2 separate regions of the Homo sapiens genome follow, and region 1 is linked to region 2. The links are contacts of gene promoters, found by promoter capture Hi-C in human tissues and cell types (Jung and others, 2019). All regions are on one chromosome and are shown on one strand. The core of a region is centred on a gene start or on the middle of the fragment in contact, and the rest is flanking DNA. Distances in the headings are between cores, read along the strand shown.

Evidence for each region. The method cuts DNA at HindIII sites, captures the fragments that hold promoters and counts their contacts. A contact is called where the count stands out against the background at its distance.
Region 1: a fragment that was not itself captured here is called in contact with the fragment with the promoter of GNAI1 in region 2 in 1 of the 25 tissues and cell types used here (liver).

What each region holds. Positions count from the first base shown.
Region 1 is chr7:80,167,926-80,171,712 of GRCh38, forward strand. The region is part of intron 1 of GNAI1 (G protein subunit alpha i1); the gene reads left to right. Among named protein-coding and RNA genes, the nearest start is that of GNAI1, 35 kb to the left of the region's middle. The HindIII fragment of the contact is 9,772 bases long and covers 1-3,787 here.
Region 2 is chr7:80,133,108-80,136,661 of GRCh38, forward strand. GNAI1 (G protein subunit alpha i1) reads left to right here and starts at 1,724. Exons shown (of 8, transcript NM_002069.6): 1 at 1,724-2,171. The coding sequence starts at 2,054. The HindIII fragment of the contact is 3,503 bases long and covers 1-1,916 here.

The DNA.
Region 1 (3,787 bases), core at 455-2,954, 35 kb after region 2:
ATTTTTCACCAACAAAATATAGGTCATTAGCAAATTGTGCAGGACATGGAAAGTACTCTGTTGATGGGATTCTTCTGTATATCACAGTAGTATACCCAACCACACCAATGACCAAAAATGTTCCCACAAATTCCCATTAAACTGTTCCTGGGCTAGCGCTATCCTTTTTGAGAATCATTGCCCTTAGCTGACTCCATGAGAACTTCAACTTGCAACTTGAAGCCCTAGGTGCTGCCTCAGACTAGAGAATATACAAGAAATGGCATTTGACAGGTGCTCTAGAAATCTCTAGTCATGTACTTAACCCTCTTTTTACTCATTTACTCGGTTTTTAAAAGATTACTGTGAAATGTATTAGAAACAAGCCCCCCCATGCATACAAAGGCCATAACTAGAACATCTGATTCACTTAAAAATTCCGACAAAATATACATAATATTCACCATTTTAATTATTTTATTTATTTATTTATTTATTTTTGAGACAGAGTCTCACTTTGTCACCTAGGCTGGAGTGCAGTGGCACGATCTCGGCTCACTGCAAGCTCCGCCTCCTGGGTTCACACCATTCTCCTGCCTCAGCCTCCCGAGTAGCTGGGACTACAGGTGCCCGCCACCACGCCCGGCTAATTTTTGTATTTTTAGTAGAGTCAGGGTTTCACCGTGTTAGCCAGGATGGTCTCGATCTGACCTTGTGATCTGCCTGCCTTGGCCTCCCAAAGTGCTGGGATTACAGGCGTGAGCCACCGCGCCTGGCCAATTATTTTTAAGTGTACAGTTCAGTGGCATTAAGTACAGTCACATTGTTGTTCACCATCACCAGTGTCCATCTCTGGGACTTCTACATCATCCCAAATTAAAACTCTTTACCAATTAAATAATAAATCCCCATTGCTTCTTCATTCCCAGCTCCTGACAACCACTATCCTACGTTTCTAAAAATTTACCCTACTGGTTTGACTAAAAATATTTTATTACAGGTTTTTCTTTTTGATGATGTTAGGTTGACTGTCTTTTTATGTTACAGGACCTATATATTGCCTCTGTTGCCAGAAACTTACGCTTCATTTTGTTTCTTTAATGTTGCTTGTTCTGTCCCTTAAATGTAACTAATAATATTCTAATTACTCTTCTTTCTGTACTTCTGTCCCTGATTCTTTTGATTTTGTCATAAACTATGATTTTCCCCTTTAAAATGTTCTTAGATTTAAAATAGGGGGTAAGAACTGTGTCTTGACAGATGACAATTGTAGTTAGATTCCGTAGTCTACACGTGGCTTTTGCGGTGGTTTTCCATCCACTTGCCTCTGCTCTCTTTAATAAAGTTCTGTTGTGACTGTTAAAAGGCCTAAAACCTTTTAACGTTTGCAAGTTGGAGACTTATAGGCTAAAATTTCCTCCTGAGGGAATCCTTTTGTATTTCTAGTATCATTTTAAAGTAATAGACATGTATCATTTTCTCATATCAAACACCACCCCTATCTATTAGGTAAAATCTTTGGACTTCTATTTTATATAAAATCAGTAGTCTTTCAGCAAATTGTGTATTCAGAAATGCTACACAATAGAAGAGGAGGTGGAATGAAGGTTCCATTTAGGAACAGTTTGCTCTTAGCAAGTAACCAGGTGTTAGTGTTTCAGGATGACTTCATGGAAGGGAAGTCATTGAAATGTCTATAATCAGGTTTTTAAGTGTCATTCCCAAATTATCTTGTTGATTATTGATTACCAAATTTTATTAACTTTTAAAGACAGTTTTATTGAGATATAATTCACCAAAAATCATTAAAGTATATTTCCATAATTTTCAAGTTTAGGCATAATGTCGTGCAGCCATTACCATAATCAATTTTGGAATATTTATATTACCACCAAAAATTTCATGACCTTTACCAGTCACTTCTCATTTCCCACAAAACCCACACCCTTACTCAACCACTGGTCTACGTTCTGTCTCTATAGATTTGACATTTCTGGACATTTCGTATAAATGGAATCATATAATACGATCTTTGGATTCTTTCACTGAGCATAATAATGTTCATAAGGTTCCTCTACATTGTCACATGTATCAGTACTTTGTTCTTTTTCATAGCTGAGTAATTCCATTGTACAGACGGGCTACATTGTTTACCTCTTTATCCGTTGATGGACAGTTGTCTTGTTTCCACCATTTTGCTATTATGATGCTGCTATAAACATTCATGTACAACTTTTTGCCTGTGAGTATATTTCATTTTTGTTGTGTATGTATGTAGGATTGAGTGTTTAACCTTTTGAATAAATGCCAGAGTGTTTTCCAAAGTGGTTGTACCATTTACATTCCTAGCAAGCAGTGTATGAAGATTCCATAATTCTTCTACATTTCAGCAATACTTGGATTGTCTACCTTTTTATTATGGCCATCCTAGTGGGTGTGAAGTAGTACCTTTATTGTGGTTTTGATTTCCATTTCCCTGATGACTAATGTTATTGATCATCTTTTCATGTTTATTAACCTCTCTGAAAACTCAAGTGTACAAAATCCCTAATGGAGGCCTTATTAGTCCATTCCTGCACTGCTATCAAGAAATACCTGAGACTGGGTAGTTTATAAAGAAAAGAGTTTTAATTGGCTCACAGTTCTGCAGGCAGTACAAGAAGCATGGCTGGGAGGCATCAGGAAACTTTCAGTTATGGTAGAACACGAAGGGGAAGCAGGTATGTCTTGCATGACTGGAGTAGGAGGAAGAGAGAGGCGGGAGGTGATATATACTTGTAAGAAACCAGATCTCAGATAACTCACTCACTATCACCAGAACAGCACCAAAGGGGAAATCTACCCCCATGATGCAGTCACCTTCCACCAGCTCCACTTCCAACATTAGGGATTACAATTTGTCATGAGATTTGGCTGGGGACACAGACCCAAACCATATTAGAAACTCTAACCTGGCAGTTTGCTCCATTAGTGATGATGGATCAAAGGGACATAGTGTATTTCATTAATTCTAAGATAGACATTTTTCACATTTGACATCACTAAAATCAGTGCATTTTACAGTAAATATATTATGGCTTTAGTAAAGACAGTTTGGAAAAGAAAATTCAGTTTACAGTTGAGGTTCATTACTTCTGGTTCTCTTAGTCCTAGAGCAACTGATTCAACTAGAAACTAAAGTATATTGTTAAATTAGGACCAAATAGTTCCTTCTCTTACAGCTCATCAGATTAAAATTATGATGTGATGCCTGTTTACCTACGTACGCCTTTTCTGATTAGTATTTACTTGCCAATTTATAGGCAATGATAAATTTGATGTATTTATCCTCATTAAAAAATCCTTGTAAAAAATTTATTAATTTATTGGGTGTTTCCTCAAGATTTTTTTCTATGTTCTTCTTTGTAAACTTTAGGTCTCTGTGTGTCAATGCGTGTGAAATAGTGCAGGGATTTAGTGAAGGCTGCACCATCATTTATCATTGTTAGACTCACTCTTGTCTGGCAAAGACAGCTGACGAAGAAAAATATTGAAGGCTTGTCTTTTATTGATCTCCACTGGACTTTGACCCTTGCAGAAACTGGCTATGGCCAGAATGTATGAAGACAACGTCATCTTTTATTATTGATGTTTATTTTAATTTACATCTTGATGTAAAATGGCATCTAGCGAAACTGTATGCTTCCCATAGTATTATAGAAAACTAGGGTGCAGGGCGAAACAATCCTATTGACAGATGATGTACTTTGATAGATTCTGGCATCAGATTATTAGATTATATCTTTTCCGGAACCAAATTTGCTTCTGT
Region 2 (3,554 bases), core at 474-2,973:
TCTTATTCGTTTATGTATCACATTTTAACTCACCTATTTGACTAACTTCAAAGGATGGAAGTAATGTTACCTATTTGACAAACTTCTGTTACACATACTTCATTTCTCCGAAACACAAGTTTTGTAGTCATTTCTACCAATATTCAGCCAGCACTGCTTCTTCTTTTGCTGAAACTGTTGGTTCCACACTCTGGTCCGAACTTAATAGGAAAGACTCACCATAAAAGATAATTAAGAATGGCTAATACACAGTGTGTTGAAATTTGATTTCCTTAAGTTTAATTCCAGAGTTCTGATACACATTAGCATTTAGAGTGCCTAGAATTACAGTGTAGAAGGTGACTAAGTACATTTAAAGATTGTTCCTTTTTGTTGTTATATTACAAAAGATTATAGTTGAGGCAGATCTTGAAATTGCATCTCATCAGCCCAGCAGGTGGTGTGACTCCCATAGGAGAACAGGAAAGGACATGTCCCATAAGGAGGCAACTCAGTCTCTGCTAGCTCACAAGCGTGGTCTCAGTGACCTACTCGAAAGCTATTCTGCTTGTATCATCAGTTCAGCCTCACCTTGGAAAACTCAAGCCCAGTTTTCCCAAATGATTTTTAGAGAATAAGATTTCCAGATGAAAACCAGGGAGCATGTTCCAATTTTTAGTACATCAAGGACCATGTTTTTCCTTGCTACCAGCCCCATTTTCTAATCAGTTAACGCTTCCTGTGATATCTGTAGGGGAAAGGTGTAGTGCAACTGACAGGGAGAGATGAGATCTTAAGCCTCTGCTCATTCATTGGGTGCTGAGTAGCAATGCCTCCCGCGGGCCACAGGAACTTATCTCCGCCGATTGTTACAGCTGGAAGGATGGGGAGATAGCACCATAGATCCACTCCTCATTTTATGGGCAAAGAAGCTAAGGCCTGTAAAAATGGCATGCCCAATGGTACAGGAGTTACAAACACGGTCATAAATATTGGCTCCAAATTTGGCATGGAAGCTTATGTGCTGCTCTAGAGGAGATCTGCTACGATGTGGAGATTGGCTTGTGTGGGTGTGTTTTATTGCTCTTGTCATTTAAAAATACTTTTGATTATTTGTCTTCCATTTTTTTTAGGTTACGAGGAAATCCTTCAAAATGCGTTCTTGTGAAAAACGTGAGAGTGCAAGGAAAGAGGGAGGGATAGGAAGAAGGAAAGAGAAGCAAAAGGTAGGAAGAAAGTGACCTTGGTGCCCTTTTCTAGTCCCCTCCCCCGACTTTCCTGTTCTCCACTGTGCCCATCTCTGGTTTCACCAGGCTCCATTCCTTCCCCAGTTCCCTGTTTCTCACGGCCCTGAAACCAGCCGACAGGGATTTGCATTTTGAAAAACCTTGCGTGGCTGCCGGCGCTGGGCATGCTCAAACGCCCAGAACTGGCTTTTTTCGGCAACTTTGGCAGCTCTCCCACCCCCACCCGAAGGGGCAGGTACGCACAGCTCCCTCCGTGTGAGTAAACGGAAAGAAATTACCCCACTCCCGCCCAGGGCAGAAGGCCACAGCCCCGCGGGGCAGTGGCGCGCCCCGGGGACGCTGCCAGGGGGCGCCAGGCCCTCAGTGGTGGCGCGGCGCCGGGGTCCGGGGCCGGGGGGCGCTGTCCGAGGGCACGTGCGCGGGCGCGCGCTCTGGGAGTGGTCGCGGGGTGGTGGGAGGGGCGGGCAGGGGCGGGGCCGCGGCGGCGCGCGGAGGCCGAGCTCGGCTGGGCTTGGCGAGGCTGCGGCGCGGCCACCGGCGGGAGTGCAGCGGCCACTGTACCCAGAGATTCAAAACCCCAAACCCGGGACTTGGGGGCGCTGAGCCGGGCCGGGAAGCAGAGCCTGGTCGTGAGGAACAGCCGCCCGTTGCTGTCTGCCCCTTTGCGGACAGCGTCTCCCTCGACTCCGCTTAGGAAGTGGTGGGGGCGGCGTGGCCCCCGTCGGGAGGCGTTCGAACGCCCGCTAGGAGAGAGAAAGGATTCCCCTGTGCTTGGAGCCCGCACTCGGGCGCGGAGGGAGCGGCGGCAGGCTCTCGCTTTCGGCACCATGGGCTGCACGCTGAGCGCCGAGGACAAGGCGGCGGTGGAGCGGAGTAAGATGATCGACCGCAACCTCCGTGAGGACGGCGAGAAGGCGGCGCGCGAGGTCAAGCTGCTGCTGCTCGGTAAGGGCGGCCGGGTCGGGGCCCGGGGGTCGGCGGGGGACCGGGTGCGGCGCTGCGCGGCCCTCGGCGTTTGGAAACCCGGAGGGAAGGGGGAGGAAGCGCCCGAGGAGGCTTCTGAGCGGGAGCTGGGTCCGGCGGTGCGGAGGCAAGGCGGGTCCCCCTCTCCCGGTGTCTGGTCTCTCTCCGCCCCGGCGGGCGAGGACTCCCCGCGGCGGGGCGGGCGCGTCACTTCACTCGGATGCTTTCGTGCGACCCAGCAAAGAGCCCAGGCGCGAGTCCGAGGCGGCGGGTCGCGTGGAAACCCTTTGCTTTGAAGTTTAGCTCAGCCTTGTAAAGATGAAGGGGCATTCGCGGCTAGAAAATGAAAACACCCCCCCCCCCGCGCCACCAACCCCCTCCCGGAAAACCCTTCTTCGTGTGCGGTGTAGGTTGTGTTTCGACTGTGGTTTTCTCATGCCCAGAGTGCCACGTTTGGTGAAATCAGTGCACCTTTTGTGGGGCCTCTGAGATGGGGCTGAAGCGTCTTTCCTGTTAACTTCCTATGGCGACTCCTTAAGTGGTCAAGGAGCGCTGATTACATTCCCCCTGCGCTGAGAAAAGGCTGCGCTGGATGCTTGATTTTTCTTGCTGTGGGGGCATGGAAGCCACCCAAGTGGGGTTGGGAAGCTTTGCTTTAGTAGTAGGCAAGGCAGATACTCGAGTGGTGAAAACTGCTGTGAAAGAGCGAGAGGGTCACGCCAGACAACAGGGTTCTGTCTCCGCTGCCACCGTTTCTGATGAATGAGATTTGCCAGGTACACGCAAGGCTTTTATTTGTTCTTAGCACTGTTCTGTTCGTGAAACGCTACGTGGAGGTCTTTTCCAAATGTTTGACGGGGAAGAAAATAAAGAGTAAACCAGGGTTTTCACTGAGGGAAGCATTAGGAAAATCTTTACAGGTTAAGATTCGTGAGTTAGGGTTTTCTTTTGTTTGCATGTTTTCTTCTCACACTCTAGGTATTTAGATAGATGAAAAATTTCTCAGAATCTTCATTTGCATTTCCAAGGACTGCTTGTATTTTTATACCAGTTATAATAAAAAAGAAATGTTGCACAAACCTGTTTTCAGTAAGCTTCTGTTTCATTGGTTTAATGACTGCAGAAAAAATGGTGGGTTTTTTTTCTCCATTACTAGTAGGCTTGGGAGCAGCAAAGTTGGCATGACTAAAAGTAATAATGATCTGAGTCATTTTGCAAGTAAACTGTGAAATAACTTTGCATTTTAAAGACCTGGGTGGCTTTTTTCACCCTGTCGCCCCCAACATAAATCTTTCTCAGTTAATGTTGTTTGCCTAAGTTTTTACATTAATAAGAAATACTGTGTTTTGATGAGGTTAGTGTATG